Regions from separate parts of the Homo sapiens genome. Here regions 1 and 2 are each linked to region 3. Evidence: promoter capture Hi-C in human tissues and cell types (Jung and others, 2019). All regions are on one chromosome and are shown on one strand. The core of a region is centred on a gene start or on the middle of the fragment in contact, and the rest is flanking DNA. Distances in the headings are between cores, read along the strand shown.

Region 1 (4,540 bases), core at 357-2,856, 400 kb after region 3:
TCAAGTGGAACGACAACATCTTGGGCAAGAACAGGAGGGCTGGCATTCAACACTGCCTGCCTGGTCGGTTCCCTTGCCCTGGGCTCCAACCTGGCAATCCCAGGAGGGTTAAAACAGAACTTCAGCACACGGGAATAACCGCAGAGGAAGGCACCGAAAAGGAGGGAAGGAAGAAGGTGTGAGCTCACCATCTGCAGCTGAGGTTCAAACTCTTTGAGCTGGTTTCCTGATTTTCATCAAGACAGCCAGGCAGTATTTGGTAAACAGTGTACCAAGTAGCCCTGGAGACTCTGAGCAGCCTACCCCCTTAACCACAAAAACACCGGACAGGCGGAGGGAAAAAGAGAAGACAGGATCCAGGAATGGTGCACACACCCAGCCAAAGGCCACCTTCCCTCAGGCACCCAAGCCAAGAGTGGCATCCCCAGGTCCTGTTATACGTCAAAGGCTGCAGCCGTGTGGGCCCCAAAGCAATAGCACAGCTTGCTCCCCTGACCAACCAACTCCTTCTGAAAAGAAAATCGACCTTCTCTGATGGAGCCGAAACCCAATGAATCAATGAAATTCAACAGCAGCAGCAATCACTACCTCTCCAATTGCGGACCTCTCAGGATGCCTGGCCAGGCTTGAAAGCCCTAGAGGAGTAAGGAGTTCGGATTTCTGATTCAGTGAGTCTGGGGAAACTCTGAGGAGGGTCACAAGGGCAAACCTCCCCGGCCTCTCCTGCTTGGCCCCAGCCCTAGGACGTGCTGCGGTAAGGGCTTTGCTCCCCCCGCCCTACACACACACACACACACACACACACACACAGACACACACACACCACCCCCCCCCCCCCGGGACACGGAGGGTGGGAAGGAAGGAAATGGAGGCCGCTCATCAAAGCGCCCGAAATCAGCGCACCCGCGTGTGTCCTGCGTCGCCCCCCAGGCCACCCCAGGACTAAGCCCTGCCCTCTCACCGGCGCGTCCCAGCCACGCCTTCCCTCCAGCGTTGCTCCGGCACCCTCGCCTAACCTCTGCACGTCTCGGATTCCCAGCTTTCTCCTAAATCGCGTCCCTCCAAAAGTCGCCCCAGCTCCCCCTTCTGCAGCTGTCTACACCTCCCCCACTCATTAGCAGCTCTTAACCCCCGACGGCCCTGCTCCTGCACTTCCCTCTCCAGCAGGCCCCGGACCCCGGAAAACTGCCCCGCTCCCACAGCGCCGCCCCCATGGGCCCCCGCCCCTTCCCCGAGCCGACCCCACTCGCCCTCGTCCTCCCCAAGATGTCTTCTCCAGGCGCCCCCCGGGGCCCCGAGCACTCGCCCCCTCCCACAGAGACAGGAAGTTCCGCGCGGCCCGACCCGCTTCCCTCAGGGCGCGGAGCTCGGCGCGGCGGCCCTGACGGGGCGCGGGCCCGGCCGCGGACCAGCGCCCCCGCGTCCCGCCCGCGGCGCCCCAACCGTCGCGGCGACCCCTGACCTCGGCGGCCACTCACCTCCCAATCCGTCGCACACTCCGTTCAGGCTGCCACGGCGTCTCCAGACCCAGCTCCGGCCGGGCTCCCGCTACCGCTTTTGCTCCGGCAGCACTGCCCAGCCCTGCCCAGACCCCTGCGGCCGCTTCTGCCGCCAGCCGCGACCGCACCGCCCCCGCCGCTCCCGCTGGGCTCTGTCCATTGGCTACCGGACACCGAGCCCCGCCCCACAGCCTCCCCGGCGCCCCCGATTGGGCCAGATGAGTAGAGAGGCGGCTCACCCCGCGTGAGGACGAGGGAAAGCCCCAGGACGCGCATTGGTGACTTCTCCTGTCAATCAAACGGGGAGTGCCTATTTAATGGGCTGCGAGGGTGGCGCAGATTACTCTCCCAAAGCCGCTCGCTGGTGGTGGTCCTTGAGACGCGCTTCCCGGGGCTGGAGTTTTGCGGTTTCGTCGGCATCCAGGGGTAAGAGGGCGCGGCAGGGCAGCACCGCACCTGACCGGAAGTTCAGGGAAGGTAATCCTACAGTCTTTCAGAAAGTTTCCTCTCCCAAGGGACTCAAAGAAGCTAATGTCGTTAGGAGCTCCTCCGACTTGCGCCAAAAGCGTCATTCCACGTGGACCCGCTTAGTTTAAACGGGGGGTTGGGGGGGCGTATGTTGCTGCTCTCTCTAATAAAATATATTTGGATGGCAAGGCACCAGGCAATGCACACGCATTCTTTCCAATTCTCACAATCACCTTGCATGATAGGGTATTAGCCCCGTTCTGCAGAGGGAAATACTCTTGAAGGAAAATGGAGAGCACTTCCTGAGCACTGTCCTACGCGCTGTCCAAGCACTGCTTCATGTCATCCAGGTGGAGAGGATGGTGAGAGGAACCCCAGGTGAGGGGTGAGCCAGGTAACTTGCTGGGGGTGATGTGGAGTAAAGAGAGTAAATGGCAGAGCCAGGATTAGAAACCCAGGTCAGCCCAACCCTTGAGAATAATAATGATGACTGTGTAGCACTATGGGAAAATGCTTAAACTAAAACGTTAAAAGAAAAAGCCAGATAGAGCCAGGCATGGTGACATGCACCTGGAATCCCAGCTTCTTGGGACGCCGAGGCAGGAGAATCGCTTCAGCCCAGGAGTTTGAGGCCAACCTGGGCCACATAGCAAGACCCAGTTCTCTAAAAAGTAAAATAAAAGAAAATAATAATAAAAGAAAAAGCTAGATACAAAATGGTAGAAACTGTAGAATTGCTGCTACATATAGATAGGTATGAGAAAAGAGTCCACAAAGAAATCTAGTGGTTGTTTACTTTCTAGACTGCTCTGTGGCATTGTCCTTATGACAATAATTGAGAAAGAAACAAAAGAACCGGCTAGGCACGGTGGCTCACGCCTGGAATCCCAGTACTCTGGGAGGCCGAGGCGGGCAGATCACAAGGTCAGGAGTTTGAGACCAGCCTGGCCAACACAGTGAAAGCCTGTCTCTGCTAAAAATACAAAAAATTAGCTGGGTGTGGTGGCATGCACCTGTAATCCCAGCTACTTGGGAGTCTGAGGCAGGAGAATCACTTGAACCTGGGAGGCGGAGGTTGCAGTGAGCCAAGATCACGCCACTGTACTCCAGCCCTGGCGACAGTGCGAGACTCCATCTCAAAAAAAAAAAAAAAAAACCAACACACAGTGCCAGGACAAACCACTGCCAAGAAGTCTCTCCTCATTCTCCAGGACTGAGCCAACAGGGACCTCTTTGCCACCCACAATACCTGTGGACCATTTGTATAGATAGAACTCAGCCATCAGCTCTCAGCACTTTCATATCTGGGTAAGTTCCGCTTACATCGCAATTCCATGCCCTATAAAAATATAGAGCCTTGTCGGGCGCTGTGGCTCACGCCTGTAATCCTAGCACTTTGGGAGGCCGAGACGGGCGGATCACGAGGTCAGGAGATCAAGACCATCCTGGCTAACATGGTGAAACCCTGTCTCTACTAAAAATACAAAAAATTAGCCAGGCGTGGTGGCGGTCGCCTGTGGTCCCAGCTACTCGGGAGGCTGAGGCAGGAGAATGGCGTGAACCCGGGAGGCGGAGCTTGCAGTGAGCTGATATCGCGCCACTGCACTCCAGCCCGGGCAACAGAGTGAGACTCCGCCTCAAAAAAAAAAAGAAATACAGAGCCTCTCCCAAATTTTTGGGGGTTTTTGTTTTGGTTTGTTTGAGACAGGGTCTCACTCTGATGCCCAGGCTGGAATGCAGTGGCACAATGATGGCTCACTGCAGCCTTGACCTCCTAGGCTCAAGCCATCCTCCTGCCTCAGCCTCCCAAGTAGCTGCGACCACTGGTGCGCACCACCATGCCCAGTTAATTATTTTTTAAAATCTTTGTAGAGACAGAATCTCGCCATGTTGCCCAGGCTCGTCTTGAACTCCTGGGCTCAAGCAATCCTCCTGCCTCATCCTCCCAAAGTGCTGGGATTACACGCACGAGCCACTGTACGCAGCCTCTCCCAAGGTTTCTGAACAAGCGTCTGTCATCAGGCCTCCTGCTCTTCCACACACCGCATGCTCACTGGTCTCACCATCATCCCCTTATCCAGTTGCACGAATCCCCCTGCACTCCAAGCACTGCTGAGTCTAGCAGGGGTTCCTGAAGACTGGAAGCTGGAGAGAGGCATCAAGCCTGGCACTGCCCAGCAACAAGACAGGATGCCTCGTGAGCCTTTTTGGCTGCCTGGCCCCAGGAGTCACCACCTGGTCACGTGACCCATGCCACACTCTGGCCACTTCACATGCCTTTGGTTTTCTGCACTCTCCCCCTCTTCTTTTCTCTCCTCCTCCTTCTCAGGACAAACACAAAATTCCTTTCCTTGTCTTGCACCTAGCAGCTTGACATCATTGCCTGAACTCTTTGGGCCTTATACCTTCTGTCCTGGCAGCTTATCAGGGTATTTTTCCAAAGATAGCTCCCCGTTGCCACATGTGAGCACCCCAACTTTGTTCCCCACAAACATTTCACAACATTCCATCCAGCCTCCTCCTTCAGTCATATTTGAACAGGCCTGGAGCCCAATCCTGCCTCCACCCCTTTT
Region 2 (4,891 bases), core at 1,195-3,694, 500 kb before region 3:
TGTGTGATATCATCATCTTCAAAAGCACGTGTTAGATGAAAGATGCCATCACAAGCACTAAAATGAGATAAAAAAGCATTCCCCAGGCCCTGCCCATTGTGAGCTCCTTTCACAAGGCCAGCAATATCCACTACATTTAGAAAGGCAGGAATTTTGCTTGCTGGTTTGTGATATTGGCAAAGAAAGTCAAACCTTTCATCTGGCACAGGTACTCTGCTCTCATTAGGATCAATAGTGCAGAATGGGAAGTTTTCTGCTGAAGCCTGACTATTGGTTAATACATTGAAGAAAGTAGATTTCCCAACATTTGGCAATCCAACAATACCAATTTTCAGTGAGGTTCCAAATCTTCCAATGATTGGGGGTGGTTTAATTCCATCACCTCCCTTTTGAGGGGGCATCGTGCTCAGCCTGGGCTATGACACGGGGTCCCAGTAGCAGCGAGAGAAAGGTCCTGCCGGCAGCCAGAGGCGGGGAGGAAGGAGGAGAGAACGCAGGCCCGGCCCCTCCGCCGAGCGGCATGCCGCACTACGGCGGCGACAGCGGTGGAACCGCCGTTTGGATTCTTAACAGGGCAATAGGAAGATATTTGATCCCTGGCAACCGAATCTATAGAACTAACTTGGTTAAATGGTTCTTTAAGGTCTGATTCATCCTTTCTACTCTCCCTGATGAAGGTGGGTGCCAAGGAGTATGATATTTCCATCTAATGTCTAGCGCTTAGGATAGCTTTTTAATGATATGTGCTATGAAATAGGTTTCACTGTCTGAGTCAATATTTTCTATTAGCCCAAACCTGGGCACTATATTTTCAATTAATGCTTTAACTACATGATTGGCCATTGCATTTGAAAAGGGAATAGCTTCGACCCAGTGAGTGAGGTGATCTGCTATTACTAAGTACTTTAGGCAACCGATTGGGGGCATTTCAATGTAATCAGTTTGAACACTTTGGAATGGTCTTAGCCCTGAATCCCTCCCCGCCCAGGGATGATTTCTTTATAACTTGTTTGTTGGTTTCCTTACATGTTAAGCAACTATCCATAACCTGTTTGGCTAGGGTATATACCCATAAACCCTGAGAACTGTGTCACACATGGCTTGGGGTCCCCAGTGTGTCCCTTGATGCAGGTGGGTAGGATTTCTCTCATGAGCGGTTTGAATAGCATTTCTCTTTGATCTGGTAACACCCATTTTCCTTCTGAGTTTTCTTTGGCTCCATTTTTATTAATTTTTCCTTTTCTGCAGCAGACAAGGTAGGGGTTGCAGCAGGGGGAGGAAGACGAGGGGTTAAGTGAAAGGTGTTTCAGATGAAATGGCAGCCTGTTTAGCCACTTGATCTGCAAGGTTATTTCCCTGACTTGTAAAGGAAAAGTCGTTTTGGTGTCCGGGGACATGTACAATGGCTATTTCTTCTGGCAACTGGAGATTGTTTAAAACATGGACGATTAGCTCCTCGTGGGTAAGATATTTTGGCCTTTAGTTTTTTTTTGTTTTTTGGTGTTTTTTTGAGACGGAGTCTTGCTCTGTCACCCAGGCTGGAGTGCAGTGGCACGATCTCAGCTCATTGCAAGTTCCACCTCCCGGGTTCACGCCATTCTCCTGCCTCAGCCTCCTGAGTAGCTGGGACTACAGGATCCCGCTACCACACCTGGCTAATTTTTTTGTATTTTTAGTAGAGACGGGGTTTCACCATGTTAGCCAGGATGGTCTTGATCTCCTGACCTCGTGATCCGCCCACCTCAGCCTCCCAAAGTGCTGGGATTACAGGCATGAGCCACCGCGCCTGGCCTGGCCTTTAGTATTAATAAGACCTTGCTCAGCCCAAATTTTTCCAAATATATGAGCTACTCCAAAAATGTATTTAGAATCAGTATGAATAGTTCCTTCCTTGCTCTGTAAGTGTTTTAAAACCTGGCTGAGTGCAAATAGTTCACATGCTTTGGCAGACCAACTATTGGGCAACCTTCCTGACTCTGTTTCTTCAAGAGTTTCTCCATCAATTACTGAATACCCATTGTATTTTTCTCCTTTAATTGCTTGGGATCAACCATCTATAAATAAGTGTCACCCCATTTTGAAAGGGGTCTCTCTTAGATCCGGCCTGACCTTTGTTTGGTAGTCAGTTAGATCTAGACATAAGTGTTCTCTTTTTAGATTTGGGTCCCCTGTTAAGAAACCTCTCGGATTGAGTGAGTTATCAGTAGTCAAGGTTAAATCATCTTTTTAGTAAAATAGCCTCCTATTTTAAGATTCTGGAGTCAGTGAGCCACCTTCCTGCTTTTTTATTTAAAATAGCTCTAACTTGGTGGGGTGTGCTTACAGTCAATTTCCCCCCAAAGATTAATTTTCTACTTTCTTCAACTAATACTGCTGTAGCTGCAACGAATTGGATGCACTGAGGCTACCCACAGGTGACTGGGTCTAAAATTTTTGATAGGAAGGCTACGGGCTGCCGGTGACCACCATGTTCTTGAGTAAGAACCCCTAAAGCTACCCCGTTATTTACATTAACAAAAAGATGAAATGGCTTTTCTAGGGAAGCTAAGGCTAAGACAGGGGCAGTTATGAGTTTGTATTTCAGCTCTTCAACCTGATTGACTTCCTCAGAAGTCCACAGGAGACGGTCCAGTTTCCACTGGGTAAGCTTTTCATATAAAAGTTTACTTTTTAGGGCATATGAGTCAATCCATAAGCATCAATATCCAACTAATCCTAGAAATTTTCTGAGTTATTGCTTAGTTTGAGGCAAGGGTAAGGACACGATGCCTTCAACTCGTTCAGGTCCTATCCTTTGCTTACCTGCACTTATTAAGTGGCCTAAATATTTAACTTCAGGCTCCACATACTGAAGCTTTCCCTTTAAGAACCATAACCCCTCGAACTCCAGATGGTTAAGGATATGTGTAGAGAAGCCAGCTACTTTCTCTACATCTTCAACAGATACGAGAATATCATCCATGTACTGGAGCAGGCATATTTGCTTTGGGATGACAACTTTTTCTAACACTTGTTCTAAAATTTGACCAAAAAGGTTTGGAGAGTCTGTAAACCCTTGAGGTAAAACTGTCCATCAATAATGTTGTTTTCGCCCTGAATGGGGATCCTACCACTCAAAAGCAAATATGTCTCAGCTGTCTTCAGCCAAGGGGCATGCCCAGAAGGCATCTTTTAAATCTATTACTGTAAACAACTGATGGTTTTTTGGAATTTTGCTGAGAATGGTGTATGGGTTGGGGACAACAGGATGGTTAGTTTGGACTATTTGATGGCTCTAAGATCTTGTACCAAGTCGGTATGACGCATCTAATTTCTTGACTGGCAATATTGGAGTGTTATACGGGGACATACAGGGTTCAAGGAGCCCATCTTTAATAAGACTTTCAATTATAGGCTTTAATCCTATCCTGCCCTCTAGGGGTTTGGGGTATTGTTTCCTCCTTACTACTTCCCTGGGGATTCTTAACTTGATGTGGATTGGAGGGATTCAGAGTTTCTCCCGGTTTCCTTCCCTTGACCAGACACTAGGATTAATGCATTTTTCATCTGTGGTGGTGAGTAGGTTTAATGAGGTAAAGAATCCTTTAGGACCAACTTGTAAGCCTGTGCCTAATTCTAGCATTAAGTCTCTTCCTAATAGATTAGTTTCTGCCTCAGGGATCAACAAAAATTGGATATGAGTCAGCCGATCTTGGTATTTAACTTCTGTACTTTCTAAGATTTTTGCTTTAAATCCTTCTCCTTTTACCCCAGAGACTAAAAGTTCTTCTGAAGAGCAGGCAATGTTGGATGGGGGGAAGCAAATGGAGGAGCGAGCCACTCCTGAATTGACTAAAAGGTGATAAGCTCATGTTTGGTTCCCACCTGTAAATTTATCAAGGGCTCCTGGTGGGACTCGAGATAAACAGAGCCCCTGACCCCCCTGTTCTTCCTCAAAAGTCATGAGTTGAAGGGCTTCTTTCTCCTTTTCCAGTTTGGGACATTCTCTTTTGAAGTGGCCTGCCCTTCAAACGGTCTGGACGGACCGTTTATAGTTTCTGGCCCCCTGGAAGCTTTGTTTAGAAGCATAAACGAGGGTCTGGACCTTTTATAGTTTCTGGCCCCCTGGAAGCTTTGTTTAGAAGCATAAACGAGGGTCTGGACCTTTTATAGTTTCTGGCCCCCTGGAAGCTTTGTTTAGAAGCATAAACGAGGGTCTGGACCTTTTATAGTTTCTGGCCCCCTGGAAGCTTTGTTTAGAAGCATAAATGAGGGTCTGGACCTTTTATAGTTTCTGGCCCCCTGGAAGCTTTGTTTAGAAGCATAAACGAGGGTCTGGACCTTTTATAGTTTCTGGCCCCCTGGAAGCTTTGTTTAGAAGCATAAATGAGGGTCTGGACCGTCTATCGTTTCTGGCCCCCTGGAAGCTTTGTTTAGAAGCATGTGGGTGTGGGGCCACCTGCTGGAAAGTGGATAACGTGAGTTTTTGCCTTTTGTTTTTGCTTCTTTCCTCACATATATTTTTTGAGCTTCTCCCAGAAGTTCACTTAGAGGTTGGTTTTCCCAGTCTTCTAATTTTTGTAACTTTTTTGAAATATCTGGCCAACTTGTAGTGACAAAATGGAGCTTTAACACTCCCTGTCCAAGGAGATCTTCCAAATTTAGGCCTGCATATTGTCTTGTTTGGTCCTTTATTCTTGTCTAGAAATTTCATAGGCCCCCTCATCTTTTTCCTATTGTATATCAAATGCTTTAGAGAGGTTTTGGGTTCAGGGTACTGATTCCCTAATTCCCTTTATTATCATTTCCCTTAGGTCTTGCATATTTTCCCAGTGAGCTGCATTAATATCGTCCCACCGGGGGTCTTGGGTGGGAAACTTTTGATCTGCGGTAGGAATGTTTGACCAGGAGG
Region 3 (4,307 bases), core at 477-2,976:
TCATTCTGTCGTTTCCAAAGGAACCTACAAAACGTGGATGGACTTAGAAGTGGCCAGAGGAGCCAGCACCAGCTTCACATCAGTCACTAGATGGAGATCTGAGAGAGCTTTCACAGTCAGTAGTTGAGGAAACAAATACTAATGTGTGCCCGTTACGAACCACAAGCCAGGTAAGTGCTGGCTGCGAATTATGAGGTGGTGGTGGCAGTTGTAGTTGATACAAGTGTCCAGGATGGGGAAGGAGGTGAGGGATACATTTCAGACATCAAGAGAAAAACCTAACCACAGGCATACGGGTGGTATTAATAAACATCTGCGGAATGGCCGGGCCGGTGGCTCACGCCTGTAATCCCAGCACTTTAGGAGGCCGAGGCGGGAGGATCACCTGAGGTCAGGAGTTCGAAACCAGCCTGACCAACACAGTGAAACTTCCATCTCTACTAAAAATACAAAAATTAGCCGGGCGTGGTGGTGCACACCTGTAGTCCCTGCTACTTGGGAGGCTGAGGCAGGAGAATCGCTGGAACCGGGGAGGCGGAGGTTGCAGTGAGCCGAGATGGCACCACTGCACTCCAGCCTGGGCGACAGAGCAACACCCCGTCTCAAAAAAAACATAAAAATAAAAATAAACATCTGCTGAGAGAACAAATGTCTGAGAAAACAATATCTAACATATTTACATCCTGGCTATTTACAAAGACATTTAAACTTAATGTGTGTTGGGAAACTATTGGGCAAAGTTCTCACTTCTTCATACAGATGAACTCAGCTCACGAAGGCTTGAAATGACTAACAACATTTAAGGGTCTAGGGGAAGTTTGGGAGACATGACTGCAAATCACCTCCATGGCTCCTCAGCCAGCTCAAGCACTTTCTTCTCCCTAAGGAAATAACCAATCTCCTGCCCAACACACCAGTTTTTCAAGCCCATGTAGGAGGCCAACTCAGCCAGCAATTAAATCGCGCTCAGCCCGCCGCTCAGTTCTCCGTGGCCTCGGGCAAGTCACTCTACCACTTCCAGCCTCAAGTTCCCCATCAGTAAAAGGTGGGTAACATGAATAGCTAGCAGACAACAGGACTGTAAAAGATTAAATGAGGCATCGTGTATATGAAAGGGCTCAGAAAACTTAAAACGCCGCACAAAGAGAGGCGAGTGTTAACAGGGGCCGCGTGCAGGGGGATTTGGGCTTGCGCCTCAGCTTCGGCGGTCGGAGCAAGTCACTTCCCCGCTACTAAACTTCGGTTGTCTCAACTCTAAGATGGGTGGAGACCAGGCAGCGCCGAGATCACGGAGCGGGGCCCAAATGCCAGTCCACACAGGCAAGGAGGCTGCGCCGCCGAGACCCCAGGACCCCGGAACGCGGGGGCCCCAGGGGGCAGCCCCTCAGGTCCACGAGGCGGCACCCTGTCCCCGCCGCGGCCCCGTCGGCCTCCCAGGGCCGCCAGAGGGACTGCGCCTCGGCCAGTGGGCGGGCGGTCGGGGCCACGGCGGGGACGGCGGCAGCCGGCCAATGAGGAGCGCGGCTGTGGTCGGGGGCGGGCGCACCCGGTCCTCCGCGTCGCTCCCGGATCGCTACCTCCCCCGCCTCGAGCTCCACTAGGCCGAGGACCCTAAACCCCGAAGAAAGGAAAGGCCTCTCACCGTCCTTTCGCCGCCGCCCCGCGCTTCCTGATGAGTTCGTCCAGGGAGATGTCCGCCATCTTGCTCCGCCGAGCAAGCCGAAAGCAGTCGAGACCCCGCGAGCCCGCCCCTTCGGCCGCTAGGGAGCGACGAACTACTTCCGGCGTCCGCGGACCAACTCTCGCGACAGCCAGCTCAAAGCAGGCAAGAACCGGAAGGGGCGGGGACGTTCCCCGTGAGCCTTCGCGGTGCTGGCTGCTCATCTGCATACGGAAGTTCGGCACATTATGAATTATTTATTTTCCTCGAGGGAAAAAATTAAATGAAAAGCAACAAAATACATTATTAACAAGTGAGACAAACTTCAATGGAACTGGATCATGACCTCAACAGTCAACTACGATAGTCATCATACGCCTAATGAGAATAGAATTCATTACCTAGGAAATAAACTAAAAACGTCCTTATGCCTTAAACTTATGAGTAAGGAAAATAACGATTCGGGGTGACGCCCGAATCCTCACTGCTAATGTGAGACGAATTTTTGAGCGGGTAAAGGTCGCCCTCAAGGTGACCCGCCTACTTTGCGGGATGCCTGGGAGTTGCGATCTGCCCGACCTTATTCACGCCTAAAAAGTAGACTGACTGTGGGGTGGTCGTGTTTTTTGTTTCTTGTTGGTAGGTGGTGAATGCGTTTTTTTCGTTGTTTTCTCCGTTACTCAGGCTGCCAGTTGCTTGGCAGTCTTGTCGCTGGCTGTGGACGCTCTGCACTTCATCACCGTCCCCAGCTGCGCTTTGAGCCGGTCTAAGGTTGCCCACAGTATTGACGTTGGGACCCACGAAACTGGCAATTTCCATGTGTGCGGCCTTACCCAGTTCTCCCAAACTTCTGCGTATAACCGCTTCTCTGTGCTTCAGAAAGATAAGTCCGGCCCCGGCCTCACACAGCAGCTCAGTTCGTGACAGCGTTTAATATGTAAAATGGAGCAAATAATTTATAGGGCGTTGGGAGAGTTAAAGAGACTAATTCATTTACGTGTTAAATACAGGGAATGGCTTTTGCATTGATATAACCCCAGCCTCCAGCATGCGCCAGACCTGACGTAGGTGTTCGGCACATATTTTGTCCAATCACTCTAAAAATACACTCCATGCCCTTAGAACAGGTGGGGTTATGTCCTCTTGGCCATCAGGCATCAGGAGCTCCGTGCAGAAACTGGGTAAGAGGCCAGGAGCGGTGGCTCATGTCTGTAATCTCAGCACTTTGGGAGGCTGAGGCGGGTGGATCACCTGAAGTCAGGAGGTCGAGACCAGCCTGGCCAACACGGAGAAACCCCGTCTCTACTGAAAAAAAAAAAAAGAAAGAAAAAAATTAGCCGGGCGCGGTGGCACGGCCTGAAATCCCACCTACTCAGGAGCCTGAGGCAGAAGAATCGCTTGAACTCGGGAGGCGGAGGTTGCGGTGAGCCGAGATCGCGCCATTGCACTCCAGCCTAGGCGACAGAGCAAGACTCCGTTTCAAAAAAAAAAAAAAAAGAAAGAAAGAAAGAAACTGGGTAAGAGCGATCCTGCAATCCTCCTGCCTCAGCCTCCTGAGTAGCTGGGATTACAGGCCCGCCCCACCACGCCGGGCTCCTTCCCAGACCTCTTTTCCTCACCCATAGAACGGGACCATTAAGCCTTTCCTCCCTTCCAGGCGTGCCAGGAGGAACGCGCAAGAGGTGGGAGGAGGACAGGCTGGCCAGTGGGGTCAGCTGGGCAGTGTAGGGCAGATGCGGAGGACAATTTTATTTTTATTTTTGAGACGGTGTCTCGCTCTGTCGCCCAGGCTGGAGTGCAGTGGCACAATCTCAGCTCACCACAGCCTCCGCCTCCCGGGTTCAAGCGATTCTCCTGTCTCAGCCACCCGAGTAGCTGGGATTACAGGCGCACGCCACCACGCCCGGCTAATTTTTGTATTTTTAGTAGAGACGGGGGTTTCACAATGTTGGCCAGGCTGGTCTCGAACTCCTGACCTCAGGTGATCCACCTGCTTCGGCCTCCCAAAGTGCTGGGATTACAAGCATGAGACACAGCACCCGGCCTCCTTTCTTGTTCTTTTACAACTCATTTAGAGCTGTGTTGATTTTTAAAATTCTTCGTATAGGTAGGTGATACTGCCTGTGAATTCTGCAGCGTAAAGGGCCCGTTACAACTGTTATTTTAAAGGTGTTGGCCAGGCATGGTGGCTCACACCTGTGATCCCAGCACTTTGGGAGGCCGAGGAGGGTGGGTCACCTGAGGTCAGGAGTTTCAGACCAGTCTGACCAACATGGTGAAACCCCATCTCTACTAAAAATACAAACAAATTAGCCGGTGTGGTGGTGCACGCCTGTAATCCCCAGGTATTCCGGAGACTGAGGCAATAGAACCGCTTGAACCTGGGAGGCAGAGGCTGCAGGGAGCCAAGATCATGTCACTGCACTCCAGCCTGGGAGACAGAGCGAGACTCCGTCCCAAAAATAATAAATAAAGGTGTCGAGTCTGTATGGAGAATCGCTGCCTTAGAGCCCTCTCCCATTTTCTGAATGGGGAAACAGACCTGGAGAGGGTGGGAATCGGGTCCAATTGATCCCCTTTTCCCACGTCCCCTTTCCCAGGAGGCAGCCTCTTGTGGGCTCAGGCAGGCCTGTGTTCAAATCCTGTG

Evidence for each region. The method cuts DNA at HindIII sites, captures the fragments that hold promoters and counts their contacts. A contact is called where the count stands out against the background at its distance.
Region 1: a contact is called between the fragment with the promoter of PACSIN2 here and the fragment with the promoter of POLDIP3 in region 3, in 1 of the 25 tissues and cell types used here (spleen).
Region 2: a fragment that was not itself captured here is called in contact with the fragment with the promoter of POLDIP3 in region 3 in 1 of the 25 tissues and cell types used here (dorsolateral prefrontal cortex).

The regions. Positions count from the first base shown.
Region 1 is chr22:43,013,543-43,018,082 of GRCh38, forward strand. It overlaps PACSIN2 (protein kinase C and casein kinase substrate in neurons 2), which reads right to left and starts at 1,607. Exons shown (of 11, transcript NM_001184970.3): 1 at 1,479-1,607. RefSeq lists enhancers at 1,209-1,912, 1,895-2,094 and silencers at 1,335-1,404, 1,525-1,574, 1,585-1,774. The HindIII fragment of the contact is 29,159 bases long and covers 1-4,540 here.
Region 2 is chr22:42,108,553-42,113,443 of GRCh38, forward strand. The region is part of intron 3 of NDUFA6-DT (NDUFA6 divergent transcript); the gene reads left to right. It also overlaps the pseudogene OLA1P1. Among named protein-coding and RNA genes, the nearest start is that of CYP2D6, 20 kb to the right of the region's middle. The HindIII fragment of the contact is 3,273 bases long and covers 809-4,081 here.
Region 3 is chr22:42,613,157-42,617,463 of GRCh38, forward strand. POLDIP3 (DNA polymerase delta interacting protein 3) reads right to left here and starts at 1,727. Exons shown (of 9, transcript NM_032311.5): 1 at 1,643-1,727. The coding sequence starts at 1,701. It overlaps RNU12 (RNA, U12 small nuclear), which reads left to right and starts at 2,088; the gene lies at 2,088-2,237. LOC124905127 (a long non-coding RNA gene) reads right to left here and starts at 1,623. Exons shown (of 2, transcript XR_007068118.1): 1 at 1-1,623. RefSeq lists enhancers at 1-490, 1,035-1,578, 1,579-2,122, 1,615-1,794, 1,875-1,934 and 1 more and silencers at 1,215-1,544, 2,085-2,144. The HindIII fragment of the contact is 15,212 bases long and covers 1-4,307 here.